6 separate regions of the Homo sapiens genome follow, and regions 1, 3, 4, 5 and 6 are each linked to region 2. The links are contacts of gene promoters, found by promoter capture Hi-C in human tissues and cell types (Jung and others, 2019). All regions are on one chromosome and are shown on one strand. The core of a region is centred on a gene start or on the middle of the fragment in contact, and the rest is flanking DNA. Distances in the headings are between cores, read along the strand shown.

The links. Contacts are between HindIII fragments. The study calls those that stand out against the background at their distance.
Region 1: a contact is called between a fragment that was not itself captured here and the fragment with the promoter of CELF4 in region 2, in 1 of the 25 tissues and cell types used here (dorsolateral prefrontal cortex).
Region 3: a contact is called between a fragment that was not itself captured here and the fragment with the promoter of CELF4 in region 2, in 4 of the 25 tissues and cell types used here (H1 embryonic stem cells, lymphoblastoid cells, mesendoderm cells and 1 more).
Region 4: a contact is called between a fragment that was not itself captured here and the fragment with the promoter of CELF4 in region 2, in 2 of the 25 tissues and cell types used here (dorsolateral prefrontal cortex and mesendoderm cells).
Region 5: a contact is called between a fragment that was not itself captured here and the fragment with the promoter of CELF4 in region 2, in 3 of the 25 tissues and cell types used here (H1 embryonic stem cells, hippocampus and mesendoderm cells).
Region 6: a fragment that was not itself captured here is called in contact with the fragment with the promoter of CELF4 in region 2 in 1 of the 25 tissues and cell types used here (H1 embryonic stem cells).

The regions. Positions count from the first base shown.
Region 1 is chr18:37,763,823-37,767,649 of GRCh38, reverse strand. All of the region lies in intron 2 of LOC105372073, which reads left to right. Among named protein-coding and RNA genes, the nearest start is that of MIR4318, 110 kb to the right of the region's middle. The HindIII fragment of the contact is 4,812 bases long and covers 1-3,827 here.
Region 2 is chr18:37,564,477-37,568,500 of GRCh38, reverse strand. CELF4 (CUGBP Elav-like family member 4) reads left to right here and starts at 2,703. Exons shown (of 13, transcript NM_020180.4): 1 at 2,703-3,145. The coding sequence starts at 2,860. LOC124904288 (a long non-coding RNA gene) reads right to left here and starts at 2,224. Exons shown (of 2, transcript XR_007066345.1): 1 at 2,112-2,224; 2 at 1,813-1,922. RefSeq lists an enhancer at 2,656-3,159. The HindIII fragment of the contact is 29,207 bases long and covers 1-4,024 here.
Region 3 is chr18:37,796,624-37,800,387 of GRCh38, reverse strand. No RefSeq gene overlaps it. Among named protein-coding and RNA genes, the nearest start is that of MIR4318, 140 kb to the right of the region's middle. The HindIII fragment of the contact is 8,755 bases long and covers 1-3,764 here.
Region 4 is chr18:37,385,202-37,389,573 of GRCh38, reverse strand. All of the region lies in intron 2 of CELF4 (CUGBP Elav-like family member 4), which reads left to right. Among named protein-coding and RNA genes, the nearest start is that of SNORA111, 79 kb to the left of the region's middle. The HindIII fragment of the contact is 8,601 bases long and covers 1-4,372 here.
Region 5 is chr18:37,713,469-37,717,270 of GRCh38, reverse strand. No RefSeq gene overlaps it. Among named protein-coding and RNA genes, the nearest start is that of MIR4318, 58 kb to the right of the region's middle. The HindIII fragment of the contact is 5,321 bases long and covers 1-3,802 here.
Region 6 is chr18:37,780,793-37,784,608 of GRCh38, reverse strand. No RefSeq gene overlaps it. Among named protein-coding and RNA genes, the nearest start is that of MIR4318, 130 kb to the right of the region's middle. The HindIII fragment of the contact is 3,779 bases long and covers 56-3,816 here.

The DNA of each region.
Region 1 (3,827 bases), core at 248-2,747, 200 kb before region 2:
TCCAGAACTGTGAGAAACACATTTCTGATGCTTATAAACCATCCAATCTATGGTACTTTGCTATAGCAGCCTGAATGATCTAAGACAGAAAATTGATACTCAGAAGTGAGGTACTGCTATACCAAATACCTAAAAATATGGAAGCAGCTTTGGAACTGGGCAATGGGCAGAGGCTGGAGAGTTCTGGGACACATGCCAGAAAAAGCCAACATTGTTGTAACAGATCTTTAAGGGCAATTCTAGTGAGAGCTCAGAAAGAAAAGAGATCTGTAGAGAAAGCCTCAATCTTCTTAGAGAATATCTAAGTAATTCTGAACTGAATGATGGTAGAAATATGGCTGGTAAAGGCCATTCTGATAAGGTCTCAGACCTCATCAGAAATGAGGAACTTATTGGACAATAAAGGAAAGACCATCCTTATTATAAAGTGGCACAGAACTTGGCTGGATTGTGTTCATGTCTTAGTGTTTGGTGGAAGATAGAACATGCAAGCAACAGAACTGGAAATTTGGCGGAGGAAATATCTTTAAAAGTATTGAAGGAGTGGCCTAGTTCCTTTTGACTGCTTAGAGTAAAATGTGAAAAGAAAGAAATGACTTACAAACAGAATTATTAATCAATATGGAAACTGAACCTAAAGAATTGGAACATTTTCAGAATATCTGCATTGAAAATAATGAGAAAGACTACTCAGGAAAGAATACTAAGGGTGTGGCCAAATAACTGTCCAATAGAGATTAGTCAGTCATCTCAAAAGAAGCTACAAAAAAAAAATGCAGAGGAGTATCCACCTGCATTGCCCAACACTGCCTCACATCACTGGCTTCACTCCCCACACTGCAACTCCAAGCAATTCAGCCACCCCAAATTGTGGCTTCAGTGGGCCCTAGTCGGGGTTACCCTGTATCCAGCAAAGCTTTGGGGATGTGGTTACCTCCACCTAGATTCCAGAGGATGAGCTGACTGGAGCTGCTGGCATGGAACCCAGGCAGAGGGCCACTGAGAAGTTTGGGACCACCACAAATATACCCCATTAGGGCAATGCCCAGCAGAACTGTGGGGGTGAGTCCCCCTAGAGACCCTACACCTGTAGAGCCTCCAGCATACAATCGCAGCCTGGAAGAGCATCAGGCACACAACTCCATCCCATGAGAGCTGTGGCAGAGGCTGTGCCCCAAGCTGAGACAACAGGGCTACCCAGAGCCTTGGGGGCTCAACCCATGTCCAACAAAGCTGCAGAGGCAGAACTGCTGTCTCAGTCGGTCTAGAAGACAGAACCCCCACCACCGTATGCCTAGAGAGCAAAGCATCAAGCCAAGGAGACTTAAGGCATAATGTAATTTGCCTGTTGGGTTTTAGACTTGCTCAGGACCTCTTCCTACTTTCTTCTTTCCTATTTCTCCCTTTTGGAAGAGGATTGTCTATCCTATGTCTGTCCCTCCATTGTATCTTGGAAGCACAGGACATGTTTGATTTCACAAATTCACAGCTAGAGAGGAATTTGCCTCAGGATGACTCATATCTTGAGTCTCACCCACATCTGAATTAGATGATATTTAGAAGATAGTTTAGACTTTGGGCTTTTGAATTGACAACATGTGAGAAGTACATTAATTTTGAGGGGCCAGAGTGAAATGCTATAACTAAATATTTGCATCTCTCCCAATGTATGTGTTGAAACTCTATTCCCAATGTGATGGCATTTGGAGGTGAGGCCTTTGGGAGGTGATTAAGTGACTTAGAAATGGGATTAGTGCCCTTATAAAAGAAGGCCCAGAGGGATCTCTCACCCCTTCAGCCATGTGAGGTTACAGTAAGAGGACAGCTAGCTATGAACCAGGAAGCGGGCCCTCACAGAACACTGAGTCTGCAGGCACCTTGATCTTGGACTTCCCAGCCTCCAGAACTTTGAGAAATAAATTCCTGTTGTTTATAAGCTACTCAGTCTACAGTACACTGAAGCCCAAATGGACTAAGATAACCCCTATACTCTTAAGTGTCCCAAACAGCAACAGGTGAGTGAGGAGGTGTTTGGTTGGAGTCCTAGGTGGGAGAGGCAGGCTGGGTAGCAGGTGATCCAGGAGCAGTGGTACACCTGGACCCTGGACTGCCCTGGCCTGCTTCAGAAGGCCACTCCTGGCTGAGTGTAGCCCCAAATTCCATTTTGCTTGCTTGCAAGGCAAGGGATAACTCTGGCAAAAAGGTTAACTAGTCTAATCACAGCAAAGGTCAGGACCCCAGTGATGGAAGCAGACTTTTCCTGCAAGAGTGGAGGACATCTCCATAGGAGAAGCAAACCGAGGCACTCTGATAGAAAGGCTTTTATGTTATAGGGTTTGAGTTTCCTTTTTTCAACCTTCCAGGAAAAAAAAAAAAGTAGTCAAGAGGCTGTCAGGCAGCTCAGTGTCTCCATTAGAATTCAGAGTATTCCACGGTAATTACAAAACAGCTGTAATGGAAAATTGGTAGTCAAACCCATTTTCCAGCGACTAGAACGGTGAATGGGCTCCATTATGTTCCTAATTCTCATTAACTTAATTTGCATAGGAAATAATGAAGGAATACATAATGAGGTACAGTGGGCAAGCAGCCCAGCCCTGGCCCCCACGGTGCTGGGCTCAACCCACAGTGACCCACCCCAAGGGAGGGAAGGCCAAGTGCTGCTGTTGGGCTGGACTCCACTGGGCAACCTGAGGCTGCTGCCCTGAGCTAGTCCAAAAACTAGCGAGGTGGAGGATGACTGCTTGCCTGTCACTTGCCCAGGATCACCTTGCCTCAGCACGCCCAATGCAAATCCTATTTCTTCTCTCCACTTCCCTCCCCTACTCTTGGTAAGGCTGAAGAACTGGAGCAGAAGGAGGAGGGAACTTGTTTTCGGGTAAGCAATTCCAGGCTTTGGCTGTGTGTGCACGCATGTTTCTCCCTACAAATCTGGTTTTAATTATAATTGGCCCTGGCAAAAGAATGAGATCAGCAGCTGGGGAGTGGGGTGGGGTTGGGGTGCAGAGATAGGCCTGAGCTGAGCCCTGGGTGCTTTTGAGGAAGTGAGGACAGCAGAGCCTAGCTCCAGTTTTGCTACCTTAAGCCATAGTGACCACATCAGACCAGATCTTTGCTGGTGGATTGAATGGAACTCGAAGTAAGGCAGAAACAGGTCACAGCCAAAGCTCAAAGCTCAAACAGCCAAGCTATCTCCAATTCCACCTACCAAGCTGTGACGGTAGTGGAAAGCCAGAAGTTCTTTGTGTTCTCTATTTTAACAAATAAAATTACAAACCAAAAAAGATAGTGGTACCTTCAACTCACAGTGAGTTTAGGCATCTATGATATTTTAGACACTATACTGGACTGTCTCAATGAATCTTTACAGCAAAACTGCCAGATAAGAATTATATCAATTTCATTGATAGGGAAACTGAAGCTCAAAAAATTTTATATGCTGATGGTTTAGCTCTTCACAGGCAAAGTCTGGTCTTATGGACCAGCTAGTCCAGCCAAGCTGATACTTCCCAAACTTTATAGCTTCACGACACTCATAGAAAATGATCATATTTGTATAGGGTACTCAGGGTGAAGAAGAGAGAATATGGAACCTGAAGAAGGCTGTCCCAAACTCCACTTGGTTGAGGGGATCAGTATTTCAACCCATATGTGTTGGAAACCTCAAGTCTAATTCATAGGAAAATGCTGGCCCCTTCCAAGAGCTACCAGGAAGGTGTATATGCCAGCAATATCCCAACAGTGTCTCACTTGATAAAACAAAAATGTCTGAAATCCCACTACTAGTTTGGGTTAATTATTGCCCTCTGCATATTTCTCTTTTTAAA
Region 2 (4,024 bases), core at 1,454-3,953:
AGGGGTTGAGAGGCAAGGAGAGAAAAACAGACCTCGAGCAGGAATTTACTCTCCTAAACTCCCCTGTGATAGCAGAAAATACATGCCACTCAGCTGTAGGATCCTGGGTGCCATGCACCAGCACCACAGGATGATGTTGGAAGAGATATCTTGGACAGAGTTAATAGCCACTGCTGATGTGTCCTAGGGGACCAGAAGGAGGAGGTCTCAACCTGGTATGGACACACACATATATGCAGTGTGGATACACGCAGGGTCCGTGCAGAGACCCACGCTGCATCCACACAAGCAGGCACACACGGCCAAACCACACACACAAACTCTCCAAGTGCTTAGCAGGGACTTGCCCCCCTTATCAGGGCACTTCAAAGGCACACCAAATACACAACCACCACATGGCAAAGGCTCTATATGTGAGTTTCTGTTCGAGTCATCTACTTGGTCGATTCTTAGACCAGCATACAACACCGGATAACGTAAACCCGGTAAACCAAGTGACGAATTAACCATACTTACACCCGATTCCGGCAAGCAAAGGCAGGAGAAGCTAAAATGAAAGGATGAAGTTCCACAGTTCTAAAAATCATACTTGCTCTTTGGTTTGGGCCCGGGATCCTCAGAGAGAGGCGTCCTGAGCGGACTCGGGGCCTGGGGCTGCGAACCTCGGGCCTCCGGGCCTCCTCCGGCGCTGGAGAGCTCCGTATTGTGCTTGTACCAAATGGGGTTGGCCTGGGTTTGCAGGCAGCTGGGGTCTCATTTCTTTAATTAAAATTGCAGACATATCCTCTAGTAACGTAATGTAATCCGAGGGCAAGAAAAGAGAAACCCTGAAACCCGAAAGTGGCTAGCCGAGGGCCGGCGGGGGTTAGGCCAGCCGCTCAGCCCCGCCGCCCCAGCTCCCCAGCCCCGCAGCCCGCGGGGGAGCGGGCGCGTTATTTCAATTTGCCAGGCTTCTGAAGCGAAGAGGCTGCCCTGAAAAAGCAAACATGAGAGAGGACGGGGTGCAGGTAAATATCATTAACGTGAAAATCTGCTACCCCAGCCAAGTTCACCACCAGTATTCACCCCTACAGGCGGGGCCGCTCGGACCCTGCTCCCGGCTCCGCGCCTGCCACTCCCTTTCCCGCGCAGCCGAGATGCCAGCCCCAGTGGGCCTGGCGGGGAGTCCGGCGGGGTCCGGACCGGGCGGCTCGACCCCCGGTCCCCACGGCAGGAACGACTCAGCCTCGCACCTCGGGAGCTGTAGGTGCCGAAAACGAAACCCGCGGGGGCAGCGCACGCCGCGCGAGTCTCGGTCCGGCGGCAACCCAGATAGCGATTCAGGGGCTTTATTCTTTTGATGGTGATTAAAAAAATATATTCTATTTGAACCCGTAAAGCAGACGAGGGCAAATCAAGCCATCCCCCGCGCTGGCTCACCGGCCACCGCGCCCAGCGCCTTCCTCCCCCTCCGGCGGGCGAGCGGGCAGGGGCGCCCGACTCCTACCTTCCTCCCGCCAGCCACCGGGGGACCAGCCGCGCTCTCCGGGGCGGGGGAGGCCGCCCGGGACGGGGACCCCCACCTTCCGCCTTCGGAAGCGGGTTGGGGCGGGGGTCGGACCCCGAGTCTCTACTCCCCGTCCCTCTGCCCCCCGGCGCGGCCCGACAGCTCCCAGCCCCATCCTGGCAGGTGGCTTGGGTGGCGGTAGATGCCGGGCGGGAGGAAGATGTGGGGCTGCTCTGGCAGGTTGGGGGTGCGAGGAGGAAAAAAAAACAGAGAAAGACACACACAGAGAGACAGGGAGAGAGCGCGCGCGAGAGAGCTCTTGTCTATAGATTTATCCACATAATATATATTTATGTAGCTTTTTTTCTCTCGACACTGATGAATGCGCGCTCGGATCCCCGGGCGGACTCCCTCCAAGCCGGCTCGCTTTTCTAGTCTAAATAAATAAATAAAGCCAGATGGAAGAAAAAAGCGCCCATTCCACCTCCGCCGCCGCCCCGCCCGCCATCCCTGCCTTTGCTTCGCCCGCCTGGCGCCCTAATAGAGCATAGCTTGGTGGATAAAGCCCCCCTACATACCCACACGAAAATAAAAATCACTATTTTTAAAATACAAAAAGTTGCACCTGCTGCTATTACAAAAAGAACCCCCAAAAGGCAAAGAGAGGAGGCCGGCTGCCCGGCTCCTCACGGACACCCGCTCCCCGCGGCCGCCGGGCCCGGAATCTCAGCGCCTCCCGAAGAGCCATGCGCCTGGCGCTATTTATAGCCGGGGGCCGTCTCGGACTGTACCATCGCCACGGCGCGGGGCCGCCGACGGGGGAGGCGCGGTGGCCGCCGCCCCACGCCGCCCTGCCCCCGGCCGCCGCCCGCCGTGGCGCGGGCCCCCACAGCGCGCCCATTCCCGGCCCCCCGCGCCCTCCTCCGCGCGCGCACACTCGCCACCCCCACCCCTGGTCTGGCTGGGAACTTGAACCGGTCCAGCCTGTTTAAACGGAAAGGACAGAGATCCTGTCTGTTCAATGTAAAAAAAAAAAAAAAAAAAAAAAAAAGAAAAAAAGAAAAAAAAAATCAGATCAGACCGAGAGAGAGAGGAGAGAGGGAGAGAGAGAGGGAGAGAGAGAGGGAGAGAGAGAGGAGAGGGAGGGAGGGAGAGAGAGAGGGGGGAGAGCAGAGAGAGAGCGCGAGCGCGAGCGAGCGAGAGAAGAGGAGAAAGAGAGAGAGCAGAGAGCGAGCGGAGAGCGAGGTGTAGAGAAACCGAGGGGGAGAGAACCCGAGTGTGTGTATGCGTGTGCGTGTGTGAGCGCGAGCGAGCGAGAGAGAGGAGCGAGAGAGTGTGAGCGAGAAAGAATAAAAGGAAAGAAGATTTTCTCTATGTATATAAAGATGGCCACGTTAGCAAACGGACAGGCTGACAACGCAAGCCTCAGTACCAACGGGCTCGGCAGCAGCCCGGGCAGTGCCGGGCACATGAACGGATTAAGCCACAGCCCGGGGAACCCGTCGACCATTCCCATGAAGGACCACGATGCCATCAAGCTGTTCATTGGGCAGATCCCCCGCAACCTGGATGAGAAGGACCTCAAGCCCCTCTTCGAGGAGTTTGGCAAAATCTACGAGCTTACGGTTCTGAAGGACAGGTTCACAGGCATGCACAAAGGTGAGTACACCTTTCCCTCCCAACTTTGCCGGGGAGCAGGAGCGGGCTGGCGGGCCGACCGGCCGGCCGGCGACTGACGAGCGGCGGACTAAGCGAGAGGAAGCCTCGGGCGGGCGCGGTGGAGGGAGGCGCTCGGGCAGCGGAGACCAGAGCTGGGGTGCGTGGGGAGCTGTTCGCTGGGGCAAGACTGGGTTTTGGGCGAGGTGCTGATAGGAACGATGCCATGGAGAGAGCAGCGGGCGCCGATGAAGAGAAAGAGAGAGGGGATCGAGGAGACGGGGCTTGGATTTTTGGGTACAGCGACCTGAAAGATGGGGATGGGGAAGGCTGCACCGGTCGAGCCCAGGACGCTGAGCGGACGGACTCGCGGGCTCCTGGCCGGCCGAGGACCGAGGGTGCTGTCCATCGCCGTGGTGCTGAAAATACTAAAGGAGGTGGTCTCCTCATCCTTTGCTCCGGGCTAGAGTAGCAGGAGCGCAGCCGTCTAAAAGGGAGAGAGGTGACAAATTCAAAGAGAAATTTTTATTTAAATGTAACAGTAAACTCTCCCTGTCGAGCTGTGTGCCTCAATAATCTGATTGTGGTGTGAATGGTGGTGTGTGTTGGGGGTGGGGGGGTTGGATGTTTGAAGGAACCAGTGATAAAACCTAAGGCAAGAATTAGCAAGGAACCAGCCATCCCCTGGGTGGAGTGGGGGGTCTGGCAAGCCTGGATAGTCCCCTTCCCAGGAAAGCGGGGCTTTGGGAAAAAAATATGTGTGTGCGAGATTTGCATTTTGAAAGGTGTACCCTAATTTATCCCAAACTCACCATGCAGAGAGCTTTATAGTACATTATTTCTCCCTTGAAGCGATCATTGCCAGTGAGTGCTTGGGGGAGG
Region 3 (3,764 bases), core at 10-2,509, 230 kb before region 2:
TAATCATTCTACTATAAAGACACATGCACACATATGTTTATTGAAGCACTGTTTACAGTAGCAAAGACATGGAACCAACTCAAATGCCCATCAGTAATAGACTGGATAAAGAAAATGTGAGGGCAGGCGCAGTGGCTCATGCCTGTAATCCCAGCACTTTGGGAGGTTGAGGAGGGTGGATTACTTGAGGTCAGGAGTTTGAGACCAGCCTGGCCAACGTGGTGAAACCCTATCTCTACCAAAAATACAAAAATTCACCAGGTATGGTGGCGGGCACTTGTAATCCCCGCTACTCAGGAGGCTGAGGCAGGAGAATCGCTTGAACCCAGGAGGCGGAGGTTGCAGTGAGCTGAGATCGCACCACTGCACTCCAGCCTGGGTGACAGAGCAAGACTCCATCTCGGAAAAACAAAACAACAACAACAACAACAAACGAAAATGTGATACATATACATCATGGAATACTATGCAGCCATAAAAAGGAATGAGATCATGTCCTTTGCAGGGACATACGTGAAGCTGGAAGCCATCATCCTCAGCAAACTAACGCAGGAACAGAAAACCAAAACCAAACACCGCATGTTCTCACCCATAAGTGGGAGCTGAACAGTGAGAACACATGGACATAGGGAGGGGAAAAACACATCCCAGGGCCTGTCAGGAGGTGGGGGGTGAGGGGAGGGAGAGTGTCAGGACAAATAGCTAATGTATGCAGGGCTTAAAATCTAAATGACAGGTTGGTAAGGGACAGCAAACCACCATGGCACACGTATACCTATGTAACAAAACTGCACGTTCTGCACATGTATCCCAGAACTTAGAGTTAAAAAAAAATAAAGTAAAATAAAAAAAGTCCTGGCCATTATTCCCAAACCTGGGTGCGCAATGTTCCTTGGAGAGGTGGGCAGACTAAATGCAGATCCTGGAGTTTCACCTCCAGGGATTCTAGCTCTGCCACTCTATCCTGAGTCTCAGGAAGCTCAAGTTGATTAAAACGCCCATCTTAGTCTGTTTTGCACACCTATAACAGAATACCTGAGACTGGGTAATTTATGAAAAACAGAAACTTATTTTATCATAGTTCTGGAGGCTGGGAAGGAAGTTTAAGATCAAGGCACCAGTAGGTTTTGTGTCTGGTGAAGGTCCAGTCTCTGCTTCCAAGTTGACATCTTGAAGTCTGTGTCCTATGGACAGGAGGAATGCTATGTCCTCACATAATGCAAGGCAAAAGGGCGAAAAGGGATAAACTCCCACCATCAAATACTTTTGTGAGGGCACCAATCCAATTCACGAGAAAGGAACCCTCATGGCCTAACTACCTCTTAAAGGCCCCACTACTTAATACTACCACATTGGCAACACCTGAATTTTGAAGGGGACACATTCAAACCACAGCAATGCCTATGGTCCTAGGAACTCATTCAGAGAAACTCTATTCTTACTAATATAGATCAGAGAGGAGAGGCAAGTGTAGACTGTAGGCAGGGTTCACAGAAGTAGCAGATTTGAACTACCCCTTGAACTAGGCCTTAGAATATGGATAAGAAAATCTCCCAACTTACCTGTTTCCCTCGACCAGGCCTTCATGTTTTACCAGCTGCCTAATCTCCTGTAAGAAAGTGTTCACTGAGGATTTACATGGATCCTGGGCTCCGTTCACTAGACCTCACCCATCCCACTCAAGCACCATTGAGTCTGTTTCTAACTTAAAATGAGACCCACCCTATTGCTCAACTTCAAGGAGCAACACCTGCTTCCTTTGTAATCCAATCCACGAAAGGGCGGAGCCATGGAGAGGAGCTTTCACTAGTGCATAGCTCACACAGGGGTGACTCCAAAATCACAAAACATAAGACTGAGATATGGGAGCAGAGAAAATGACTACTTCCATGATATGGTCCCAGAAGAGGCTTTTTACCCTCATCTAGAGAGATAGGTGAAATTGCCAGGCCATAAGCCAGCTGCAGGGCCAGCCCCCATTGCCCCTTATTAGCACGTATCTAGCACACGTGGATTATTTAAGAGCGTCAATTAAAAGTCAGGGTATGTGCTCTATGTATTTGAATCTGCAATAATCCAGGCCAGAGGACCTTTACCGATGACAATGTTGGAAGTTATTTTTTCTCTTGTGAATTTCCAGGATCTTGGAAATACGGAAGCAGTCTAAATTCAGTCACTTGGGGATTTCGATGGATTGATTAGATTTTTTACGGATCAACATGTAGTCTCTTTGAAGAACTGTCCCAGGACTCTAAGGCAGCAGAATTGTCAAACTGACAGTCTTTGCTCCTCCTGAAAGGAATTTTGTCTGACCCCCTTTTGACTGTCTTCCATGCTGAGCGATATATCCAGAAATTCAGAGAAGCATAATCTATGTCCTTTAACCAAAAAAGAGGCTAAACACACAAACCCATGGAAATCCTATCCTTGCAGCCTTTCTTCCAAATGCAAAGAGTGCATAAGAGTGAAAAACCTCCTGCTCCTAAGATGCTTCTCTAGAGGCCTGGCTTCTTCGTAATTCCCAGAACTTTTAGCCTAGGAAAAACTTCAGGCTGACAAGGGGAGAAACTGAATTCCTCTACAATTTTCCCATGAGATACCTTAAAAATTGCACTGTAATCCCAGATGGAGCAGAGTGGATCCAACAAGCCCTGCAGGTGGCTTTCCCCTCACCTGGTTAGGGAGCCCAGAACATGTCCCATAACTTCTCTGGGCCTCAGTTGCCCTTCAGACAAAAGAGGGTTAGACAGTCCTCATGTCTACCCCAGAAGACAGTAAGTCAGGACATGATTAAACACATGTCTCTTATAAAGGTACTTGGAAAAAAGTCTAATAAGCTCTATAAACAGAGAGTGTCTCCACATTTTCAATGTTCATATTGCCTTTAATGTAGACACCCAGTCTATCCTGGGGGTGGGGAGTGAGGAGCGACATTTGGCAACAATTTACACTACAGATAAATACACCCACCTTGACATTTTCAAAGCCTGGCTCAGAAGAAAAAGTCCCTTTTTTCCCTGAAGCATTAAGAGAAAATGTGCATGATTATCATCTGTCTAAAAAAAAAAAAAAAATGAGGAAAGAAAGAGGGAGGGAAAAGGAATACAGCTGAAGTGACACCGAGAAACTCACCATTTTATTCTGCACAATTGAACTTCATTAATCATAGAAAATCAGAGATGGAAAAGACCTATTAGGTCACCCCATCTATCCCTCTGAAAGCATTAAAAGCTTTCAAATGAGACAGAAATCAGAGGTCCTGACTGCTGATGGCCATTAAAGACAGTTTTTGTGAAGAAAAATGTTAACCTTCGTGTCTCTGACAAATTACACTCTGGGTGGTTACAGGCTGCCTTTGCCAGAGCGCCCCAGTTCTGGGGTTGGAGATCACCACCCCTTAGCATGAGTGCTGCTAAGTGGCTTCGGCAGGGACCCCTATTAGATAACCACCACTCGTTGACAGCGAGGACCCTGCAGAAGCAAGCATGGCCCAGTTTCCTGCTCTTCCTCTGTTTTCCATGGACAGAGGAAGGATGCAGTTTCCTCTCCAAAACACCTTTCATTCAGGTCCCGCTTTTCCCAGGGAGCCATCCTTCTCTGGCTAGCCCACAGTGCAGCTCCTTTGCTGAGCCTTTACATCTTTCCATTCTGGGCCTCACCAAGCAGCCCTGGCCTACAGATGGAACACCTGCTGTTTCAAGATGTCCCAGATCTCTTTGACCCTTCCTCTGGCCAGAGTCCAATTGCAGGGAATTGTCTTCGTC
Region 4 (4,372 bases), core at 1,202-3,701, 180 kb after region 2:
GAGCAGACCACAGCCCAGCACCCCTCCCACACACATTTTAATCAATTTGGTGCTTTCTTGTCAAGAAGACAAGCTATTTGCTTCCTGAAGATCAGATGGTGATGGATGAAATATAGGGAATAATTAAATTAGCAGTGTAATGGTGGTGCAAGGCTCAATTAAAAAAATATTTCCATTGTCATAAAGTCTAGCCATAAATTTTAGGAGCCCTACATTCCGGTGGCCTGCAGTGCTTGGCAGCCCGACTGGCTGCCCTGTGGGTGTGGACTCTGATCTGATCTAGGGAGGCCCAGGGAAGGGCTGGGCTGCTTGAAGGAGATTGGTATCAGTAATTTGAATGTCTCACCGTGCCCCACCTGGTCCCCATCTCGTCACATCTGAGCAAGACAGCGACAGCCTGAGAGCAGCCTCTGGTGCCTGCTCCATGTTTCAGGTGCATCTCCAACTCTCAACCATAGTGACCCCTCATTTCCTCTGTGTTTCTTCTCACTTTAAGCCAACCATCAGGAACTTGGGGTGGGGGCTAACTCCCACCCTGTTTCACCAGGGCAGGACCCCAGTCTGTTCATGAGGTGCTGGGTGGTGCCTCCGAGAGCCTTCACTGGAAGCCTCAGAAAGAGCCATCAAGAGGTGCACAGGAGCACCCAGGAAGTCCCTGGTAACTAACCGATGGATGACATGGCCCAGGTCACCCTTCAGGGCACTGCAAAAGGTCTCCTGGACAAGAGGGTCCAGGGTGACAAGGGCTGAGGTGCTCCAGGCAGAAGCAGAGGGTGTCGGGGCTTAGACTGGAAGGGCATGCTCGGGAGGCATCCTCAGCATGTTCTGTGGAGGCTCTGGGAGGCCCCCTACTCCCATGTAAGTTGGACTTTTTGGCTTCTCCCTCCCCACCGCACTTATTGCAATAACTACTTCTCGTATGGCCCATTATGCTAATGAATGACAGCAGCAGACCTAGAAGGGTGTTTGCTGCTGTCTTGAGCTCATTAGTAACCGAGAAATGCAACAGGAAAGCTAGAGAGGGCATGACACCAGGTTTAACCAGGGCCAGGGCACCACTGGCCTTGGGGAGGGAGAGGAGGAAGAGGAGGAGGATGGGAGAGACTGGAGGAGGAAGACAGAGAAGAAGGAGAGAGAAGGAGGGGGGAAAGGAGGAGAAGGAGGAGGGAAGGGAGGGAAGAGGAGAAGCAAAGGGCAGAGGGAGACAGAGGAGGAGCTGGGAAAGGAGGAAGCGTCAGAGTGCAGTCAGAGGCCACAGGTGGCCTGTTTGGGGAGAAGGGACAGTATTCCCTACCCCATCTCTTCACGCAATGGTGCATGACTTCTGGCACCATTAGGACCAAGCCTGACAGATGTGCTGAGCTTGGCATTGAAGACCTCAGCCTCACCTTTCTTTTTCCCTTTAGAGAAGCCCCTCTCACACCTCAGGTGATCCCTCCTCTCTCCCCTCAATGAAACCTGCCCCAAAGGATTTACCCAAATCACACTGCGCTGTACAGTACCCTCCCCCCTCCCCCAACTCCTGCCTTCCACCGAGTGTGGCATTAAAGCAGGGACAATGACAATAAAGGCCACAGAGGGCCACAGAACCTCATCAGCTGGTGGGAAGGAGGAGGGTCTGGATGAATACTAGGGAGAAAGCTGGCTTCCCCCAGCCCCAGGCCAGGTGAGATGAGGCCCTACTTTCCTCTGTTCTGATGAGAGAGTGCAGGGGGCTCCCTGCCCTTGGCTCCTTCGCCAGGATTGGGGATGCTGTGGGCCAGCACCAAGATCTACTGGGATTACAGCTGGAAGGAGCAAAGGGTCAGACTGGAAAGCAGGACATGAAGATCTGCTCAGGATGCTGCAAAACAAAGTCCCACCCGCAGAAGGGCTGCTAGGGTACAAGGAAAAACCTGCAGCTTCAGCCAGCCCTGGACTCTTCCACCAGCCTCCTGAGGCCAGAAAAAGCCCCAGACCAGAGTCCTCAACTTTACATCGAGACTCTGGGTTTGTCCAAAGGAGTTGGAAGAAGCAACTGAATTCAGTCCTCTCGGGGTGGAGACTGGCAAGCCGGACTCAGCTGGGCCCAGCACGAGGTGGGCCCTGGATCCTGAATCTCCAGGATTGAACAACAGCCTCCCGTGAGAAGAGGGGCGCTGGAGGTCAAGGAAGCAGTTGGCTGCGTGTGGTTCTGGGTATCCAGGCCTCATCCCACCAAGGCAGAAGCCAGCCAGGGTCCCAGGGCAGGTTGTGAGGGCCCCTTGCTGCTCTGCTGGTTTGGGGAGGGAGCAAGGCCTGGCCCAGAGGCATGGGTTCAGCTTCACCATGGGGTTCAGTTGGCCCAGCCCCCCACTCGGGATGGCCCTGGTTGCCGGGAAAAGGCAGGGAGGAAGGGGCAGCACAAAGTAATGCCCAGGACAAGGAACCAGGGGAACTTGGGGGCCATCTGTCTCTTCTTACTGCTAGAATCTGTACCATGGGCAAGGATCAAAGCAAAAGCCCCACATCCTCCACTGAGGCCAGCCGGGGCTGGGGAGCCGCCTCCACAGCGCAGCAGGCTCAGCCCCGTGCGTGCCGTCTCTCTATCGCCAAGAGAGCCCCAGGACCAGTGAGAGGCACAGTCCATCATTTCTGCCTGCCAGTGGCTTCTTCTTCAGGTCACTGAGAGAGAGTACAAACTTGTCCTACAGAAGACAATAACACCTTTTTAATGCTAAGAGAATTCACAGAGCCCCACTCTGTACATACCCTGAGGTATGAGAACAAAGTGAAGAGGTGAACATGCAGTCAAGGGCTTCTTCTTTGAAACCCTAGAGAGGAAACTATTTAGGAAAAGAGAGACTATTTAGGACCATAACAGTTAAAGATTATTGAGAAAGGGACTGAATTGTACCTAGGTGTTTTTTCTTTATAGGCTTGTTTTAGAAGACTTTCCAATCTCGTTTAATGGCACCATGTTCAAGTTAATTTAATTCAATCAAAAGTTCTATTTTGACTTTTTCTAAGGATAATTAGTGGGGAAGCGTGTGTTCTCACTCTCAGTTAATGGCACCATCATCTAGACAGTCTTTGAGTCAGTACGGCTCTCCGCCTCACTCTCCTCATTCCCATCAGCTGGTTCTCCCTCAAGCTGGTTCTCCCTCAAGCTGGCCTCTCCACACAGCACTGCCTTCCCGTCTCTCCCCACGACCGCAAGGTATCCTCGCTCAGCCTCCTACCACTGTAAGCCACCACTCTCACCTTATTTCCTCCTTACTTACCTCATTCTGATGTTGCCACCTCTGTAAAGGCTTCCTCTTCATTGAGTTAATTATTCCTTTCTCTAAGCTTCCAGAACACTGTTTATTTCAACACATCACATAATAATTGTCATCCTCTTTGTACATCTGCAGGTCCACAGAGCAGACATTCTTTAGGGGGACAGCGGGGTATGTGCCTGGAATATAAGAGTAGGCAAATTAAGGTGGCAGAAGAGTGAGAAAAATCAATACATTCATTCATCATCTCCAGGTAATATGCCCAAAGCAAAAAGAATATACCAAGGTAGATTCCACCACCTGGTGGCCATATTTAGAATTGCAAGTTTAGTTTATTTGGATTAAATTAATTCTTAAATCTAAACTTTTGAAGTTTCAATAAATGTCACACTTGAGCACTATGAGTGTAGTATCTGAAAATAACAGCCTTGTCATTTCACAGACTTATATGAAGGTAAAATGTGTTAACTGATGAAAGTACTTTGGAAAATCAATAAATACATATTGAAAATAGTCCACATGTGGGGTCTCTGCCAGGTACTGTGGAGCAGAGAGCTCCCATGTAGATGGGAAAACAGGATTCGCACTTGAAACCACTAGAGAAACAAAACTGTAGGTGTGTGGCACAATATCATAGAAAAAGCATTCTGGACAGGAGGTCAGGGAGGGCTGGCTCCATGCCCAAGGCAGGGTTTGCAGAATGAATCAGGTTAGAATAAAGCCAGTAGGCAAGAGGGTATTGTGGGCTGGGGGAGGTGGAGGGGAGGGGAGACATTGGCTCAGTTAACTACTGGCCTAATTGACTACTGACTAATTGATTAACCAGGTGGCATGGACAAGCTAAGATGGGGAGAAACTACAGCCAGTAGCAACCCCTACTTCCCTTGACATGCCTATCATTGCCACCACCACGGCATTAATCTAGTTAGAGGTGATCACATTTTCTTTCTTTTCTTTCTTTCTTTTTTTTTTTTTTTTTTGAGATGGAGTCTTGCACTGTTGCCCAGGCTATAGTGCAGCAGTTTGATCTCCACTCACTGCAACCTCCGCCTCCCGAGTTCAAGCGATTCGAGATTCTCCTGCTTCAGCCTCCGGAGTAGCTGGGATTACAGGCACATGCCACCACACCCGGC
Region 5 (3,802 bases), core at 1,119-3,618, 150 kb before region 2:
TGACAGCCAGAGATGGCTCCCAAATGAAGTTTGCTCATGGAGGTCTTCTACCAGGGACAAACCTTTGCATGGGTGAGCAGAAGCCTGCAGCATACATATGATTTAAGAGTCATCATGATGTACTGCTGGTCTCAACTATGCCTCCACAATCAAAGTTTCCATGATTGGAATTCCCCCGTAGGCACCACAAGGGTTGAGGACATTGTCTCAAGAAGTCCCATAAAAGGGTACTCACTTGGGACACCAGAGAAAAGGGTTGTCCTGGGCCATTCCTTTAGGAAGTTCCCAGACTCATGGTTTTTAGAAATCCTGCATCAGAATACTAATGGGTAGCACTTACTAAGTGTCTGCTAAGTGCCATGTCTTTTAGCCATATTACCTAACTTAATCTTCACTGTAATATAAGACAACCGGTAATGTTACCCCCATCTCACAGATGAAGAAACCGAGGCACAGGGAGGTTAGATAACTTCCCCAAGATCATGTAATTAATTTGTAGGTGCCAGAGGAGGGATTTGAACCCAGGGAGCCTTGTGCCAAAGCCCACTCTGCTCTACTTCCTCTAATCATACAGGATAGTATTAAAGTGGAAACTCTAGGGCGGGACCAAGGAGTCTGCATTTGAATAAGCTACACAGGTCACTTTTATGCATTCAAAGTTTAGAAAATCAGAATATTGTGTGCCTTAAAAAAAACAGCTGCTTCTTTGGAACTAACTCTGTTATTTAGCTTATCTCACCATGTAGACTTTGCACTCCTTGGAGAAGCAATGTTTTCATTCTTAACACTTGCCTCCCCGACCCTCCAGCCTCCTTAGCACAGTTCCAGGTGTGGAACTCAGGCAATACTTATTAGTCCGGGGAGAAAGCTCTGAACACAAAGTCTGAAAATCAAAACTTGTATTCCGGCTCTGTTATTTAATTTGCCTAGGCAGGTCTCTGCAACAGATTTAGGCTCAGCATTCCCATATGTTCAATGGAAACAATGTCAAAAAGAGATTTTAAAATACTAATTTTTGGCTGGATGTGGTGGCTCATGCTAGTAATCCCATTACTAGCATGGATTACTTTGGGAGGCCAAGGTGGGTGAATCACTGGAGGTCAAGAGTTAGAGACCAGCCTGGCCAACATGGTGAAACCCCGTTTCTACTAAAAATACAAAAGTTACAAAAATTAGCCAGGCGTGATGGCACATGCCTGTAGTCCCAGCTACTCAGGAGGCTGAGGCCAGGAAATTGCTTGAACCTAGGAGGCAGAGGTTGCAGTGAGCCGAGATGGCGCCACTGCACTCCAGCCTGAGTGACAGAGTGATAATTAAAATAAAATAAAAATAATAAATAAAATACTAATTTTAAAAAAACAACTATCTTGTATTAGTTGCTTATTCTGTGATGGGTTCTACACCAGGACCTTTGGCATACATTGACTCTGATCCACAGGGATCTTCAAGGTAAGTTTTATTATTCTCATGTTACAGATAAAGAAACAGGATTTCAGAGAGATTGGGTTGTTTGGATAAGCCTGCACAGCCAGCAATGATGGGAAAAGCCTTCTTACCCAGGTCCCTTTGATTCCACATCACACGCTCTTTCCCCGACACCACCCAGTGTGATCAGCCTTTTCTCTATCCCAGGGACATAATGAGAGTCAAATGAGATCACAGACATATCAGTCAGGTTGGGCTGGGCTACGCTGTGATTTAAAAACAGCTCCAAATCTCAGTGGCTCAAAACAGCAAACATTTATTTCTTGCTCTCACTACGTATCTATCAGGAGTCAGCAGGGTGTTTCTGTGCAGCACAATCACTCAGGGACCTAGATGGAGCAGCCTCCATCCTGAGTGTTGCTCAAGAGAAGTAGGGCCAAATATTACAGGCACATTGAAAGCTTCTGTGTAGTACAATGAGCTGTACATCACATCTACTCATATTCCATTGACCAAAAGAAGTCTTGGCCAAGCCCAGAGTCAATGGGATGGGAAAGCATGGCAAAGGCAGAAAGGAAACAATAATTGTGAGCAAATATTTAATCTACATAGAAGACCATGGATGTACAGAAGGCTTTGGAAGGTACTCAAGTGAAACAGCCTGAAGTATGCTTTCTCCCATGGAGGCATGGTCGTGGGCCCCATGGCTCCAAGCTGAGCCTCCACATGCTGCAAATCTATGGATATCTCCCCTGTTACCAGGAATCTAATTATTACTCTGCTTTCTGCTCAATTATTAAAGACAAGGCAGTGAAGAGCCATGGAAGAGGAGAAAAGTCTGTTTTGCAGCAATGACAAACCATATTTCATATGCATAAAGGGGAGAAATAAAAGAGCATTGCTTTTACTCTTATAATTGCAATTTCCTGCTCGTTTCCTTTTCAAGTTAGTGGATCTAATTGTTTGGTAATAAAATATCTGCATAATATATTAGAGGCAGAGAACAGACGGGCTTAAGGGACAGTTGCCAAGAACAGGAGGGAGAGAAAAGATTGAACAGAATCAGAGTGTTCAAAGCTTGTGGGGTTTTCGTAAAATGTATACCAGGTTATTCCTGCCACTCTCCCTGCCTGACTCTTAATGGAAGCAAATGAATGGTCCAGACAAATCAGTAATCTTGACCTAGCTTAAAATTCATGTCGGTACCAGGTTCAGAACAGAAAAGGAGACAGAAAGTGCAAGAGACAGAGTGCACAAGAGAGAGAGTTCAGTAGGAAAAAATGACTGTGGTGGAGAACAACAGTTTTGAGATCATGCTTGGATTGGATACCAGCTCCACCACCCATTGGCTGTGCCACCTTGAGAAGATCATTAACCTGCCTGAGCCTCCATTCGTTCATTTGTGAAGTAGGAATAAAAAGATACTCCATCTCAAGAGTTGGTGCTCCATAAAGAGTAGCTATTCATATTATTAGAAAATTAGAATAGGTGGTTGAAGCCCTGCAGAGGGGATGTGATGGGCTGCAGGGGTCACCTTTGGCAAAATATCAAAACTGGGGAAAATGTTCTTTGTTGCCTTCAGTTCAACCATTAGCTGCCCTTTCCTCCATCTTGGTGCCCTGCTCCCCTACCTGCCCCATTTTTTCAAGGCCTAGCCCACTATCCTCAGGTCAATGTTGTCTGATGTTTACCATGGTATTAATGACTACCAAGGTGCTACCTGATAAAGAAATCCTGAAGGCGGCCATTGTGGAGGAATGAACAGCTCCTGGACTGGGGATGTGCTGCCGCCTCCTGCAATACACTGTAGAAGCAGCCACTGTCATTAATGCCTGCCCTAATTGAGTGGTTGGACCCCATAGGTGAGCCCTAAATTGGGAGCCATGGGAGGTTAGAAATTAAACAGTAGATTCAGTCTGTAACATCAGAAGCCTCTCAGACTGGTGGCAGGAGAGGCAGCTAAGTCTAGTGTGGAGGTTCTGAGCTCCCTGGGAAGTCACCCTACTGTCAGTGTGAGTTCAGGGACTTGGGGATCCTCCACTCCAAGGGAGAGCCCCTCCAGCTGCTCACAGGGGCTCCCAACCTTGACATAAGAAGTGATTTCCTTATTCAGACAATGGTGAATCAGATGCCCCATGCAAAGTATCCTCCATGCACCCTGGAATTTCACTGGCTGATTCTAAGGGGAGGGAGACCACCAGCACCATTGTAAGGAAGGTCACAGTGAGGGGAAGCAGAAGGCAGAATGCTGGGGAAGAACTTCTGGGTTCATCCCTGAATGCACCCCAGGGAAGGTGAGCCATGCCAGAAAAGAGGTCACAGGAAGTTGTTCCACAAAACCAGGAATGGAGAAATTGACCCTCAGTTCCAACAAAAG
Region 6 (3,816 bases), core at 696-3,195, 220 kb before region 2:
TCCCGATCTGTATGGAACTACCAGGGTGGCCGGAAGTGCACTGGACCAGAAGAGAAGTCAGACAGGCTTCCGGCCCACAGGGTGGTCCTTGCGCACAGGCTAGGCAAGGGGAAACCCCCGAATAAGGTCCAGGAGTAAACAGACACAGAGGCACCTATAAACCAGGTGCAAGGAGAAAATAAAGCCAACTACTTTTATGTATTCCTGCTGCCTGCTTTTCTTTAGGCCCTGACAGATTTTTCAGACTTGGAGAAAGAGCCCATCCACCTTTCTCTCCTGGCTATAACTCAGCTTCTATTCTATCCTATTCTATTCAGCCCCAGCTCTTGGGACAAAAACTTCTCTGTAGAAACAAAAGTCTTCAGGCCACATTGGCTCTGGAAGGAGCAGTTCCCCTGTGGTGGTTTTTGTTTGTTTGTTTGTTTGTTTTTTCTTTCTTGTTCTCCTTTCCACCGTGCGAAAGGAGCCCACTTATAAGCAAATTTACAACACAAGCTGGAAATCCAATCTCTCAGGCAAGAAAAAGCTGGATTTTAAAATAACTCAGGAAGGTGGAATTTGAGAAAGGAATAGCTGCAGTTTTGATCATGTGTCAAATCTGCAACGGCTGAGTGAACTCCGGGAGCTGCCTGGTACTGCCTGGCTCTACGGGCTCTGAGCTGAGCAAGAGGTTGGCAGGTGGTGATGGAGACAGGGCAGGACTGCTGTAGGCAGCTCTGATGAGGAGGCAAGGAGAAGGCTGGGGATATGGCACAGACCCAGTTTTACCTCCAGAGATGCCTGCATCATTCTGTCATGATCCAATAAAACATGGACCTGGAAGAGCCATGGTTTGTAAGGCAGCAAGCAGCTACCTGTGCGAGATCTAGGCCTAAAACACACAGCAAGACTGAATCCTCTAGCAGTGACCAGCTCAGGCTGGAGGGTATAAGCAGTTGACACCACAGAGCTGCTCTGATAATGCCTGCTTTGCATGGGAAGCCTGAGAAGCCACCAAGGGTAAATAATCCACACACAGAGTCCCAAATCTGCCACCATTGTGTTTCTAAGGTGTCCCATTTCCAAAAGCTAGTCCTAGCACAGTGTCACAGTTGAAGGTGGACTCCTCAGCACCATGCACACTCTCTCCTCCACCTCCTAAAACTAAACTGTGTCTATGTCTACAGGAGGCAAATCTTCCAAACGCTGAGCCTCAGGACCGAGTGTCATTGTGACAAACAAGTTTTGAGAGACTTCCCCATGCAATTCAGTAGGTTTGAAGCCCCAAGACCACTAAGAATCCCAGGACATTGGCTAATGCCACTGTTCCTATCTTCAAGAAAGATATCCTCTGCTACTGGAAAGCTAATTATCCTTCAAAGTTAATGTTTTCTTCCACCACAAAGCCTTCTCTAAACAAGCCAGTCAAAACTTGATTTCCTAAAGGGCATTGTCTAATACTTAGATATGACTTTTTTACCTAACAAATAGCAAAGATAAAAATACCCAGTCCTGGCAAAAATGAAGGAAAATAAGAAATGCACTCATTGGTCCATTTCTCTAAAGGCCAGGTCAGCAATGAGTATAAAGTAGAGAATGTATATACGCCTGAACTTGGAATTCCTCTTGAAGGAGCTTTTCCCACAGCAACATATATCTATAGGGATGTTCATTGAAAGCCAACCCATATTGAGGGTAAGTCTGGAGACAGATTTCCTAGTTCTGGTTCCTGGCTCTGGCACTTAGAAGCTCTAAAATTCTCTGAACTTCGGTTTCTGCTTGCAGAGTTGATGTAAAGATTAAGTTACGTAATACATGTAGCCTGGTACATCATGAAAAACCAATAGCTTTCCTTTTTTGTTATTTTAATTCAAATATTTTAAATAAACTCATATTACCACCAGTAGGATTTGATTAGCTACAATGTGATTGATCTACACAATTGAATACTACACAAGCTTTCTATTTCTTTTTTTTTTTTTTTTAAAGACAGGGTCTCGCTCTGTCACCAGGCTGGAGTGCAGTGGTGCAATCACGGCTCACTGCAGCCTCAAACTTCTGGGCTCAAGCAATCCTCCCACGTCTGCCCCCTGAGTAACTGAGAGTACAGGCATGCACCACCATGCCTGGCTAATTTTATTTTTTCATTTTTTTGTAGAGACAGAGTATTTCTGTTTCCCAGGCTTGTCTCAGACTCCTGCATTCAAGCAATTCTCTCTCCTCAACCCAAAGCACTGGGATTACAGGTGTGAACCACTGCACAGGCCTATGCAAGCTTTTAAAAAATAAAACTTCTATGTACATATTGAATCAAAAGAAAAAATCAGATTCAAGAGAGCCCATGCATGTATGTGTGGGTCTATTTTTCTGCTATGCTTTGAATATGTCTCCTTAATTTCACGTGTTGGGAACTTAATCCCAAAATTAACATGTTGATTGGAGGTGGGGCCTTTGGGAAGTAATTAAGATTAGACAAATCATCAGAGTGGAGACCCCATGATGGAACTGGGGGTTTTATAAGAAGAGAAAGAGGCCTCAGTGGACACGCATGCATGCACGCTCCCTCATTCTTGCTATGTCATACCTTCCACCATGTTATAATACAGCACAAAGGCCCTCCACAGACGCCGATGCCATGCTGTTAGATTTCCCATTCTCCAGAACCATGAGTTTAATAAACTTCTCCTCTTCATAAATTTCTGTGTAGCAACAGAAAATGAACTAAGACAGCCTTTATGTGTGTATGTGTCTGTATGGTTGTGGGTGCGCGCTGTCTAGTGTGTACATATGTAATGTGAGTCCTGTGTGTAAATCTATGAGGTTTGTGTGTCCATGTGGGTTCTCTGTCTTTGTCGGCAGTGTGTGCATATGTGTGAGCTTTGTGTGTATACCGTCAATGTGTGTGCAAGAGATCTGTGTGTCAGTGGTAATGTGTGTGAAGTACATGTGTGTACTGTATGTGTGTGCTTTGTGTGTATACCGTCAATGTGTGTGCAAGAGATCTGTGTGTCAGTGGTAATGTGTGTGAAGTACATGTGTGTACTGTATGTGTGTGCATTCTGTGAGTGTCTGTGGGTTGTCTGTCTGCAATGTATGCATATGAGTTCTGTGTATGTGTGGTATATTTGCATGTGTGTTCTAGGTGCATGTGTGGTATATTTATAAGTTCTGCATGTGTGGTATATTTATATGGGAGTTCTGTGTATGTGTATGTGTATATGTGTGTGTGTCTCTACAGGGTGCACTGCGAGTTCTGTCTGGGGGAATGTATTTTCATGTGAGTTCTATGTGCATGTGTGGTATATTTGTGTGTGAGTTCTGTGTAGTGGTGTATTTATGTGGGAGTTCTGTGTGTGTGTGTATGTGTGTCTATAGGGTGCATTGTGAGTTCTGTGGAGGGATGTATTTACATGTGAGTTCTGTGTGTGTGTCTGTGGGGTGCATATATGAGCTCTGCAGAGCAGTGTATGTGTGTGTGAGCTGTGTGTGTCTGTGGAGTGCATGTGTGAGCTCTGTGGGGTGGTGTGTGTGTGAGTTCTGCGTGTGTCTGTGGGGTGCATGTGTGAGCTCTGTGGGTAGTGTATGTGTGAGTTCTGTGTGTGGTTGTGGGGTATGTGTGTGAGCTCTGTGGGTGGTGTATGTGTGTGTGTGTCTGTGGGGTACATGTGTGAGCCCTGTGGGGTGGTGTGTGTGTGTGTGTCTGTGGGGTGCATGTGTGAGCTCTGTGTTGTGTGTGTGTGTCTGTGGGGTATATGTGTGAGTTCTGTGTGGTGGAGTATGTGATCCCTGTGGGGTGGTGTATGTGTGTGTGAGCTCTGTGTATGTCTGTTTGGTGCA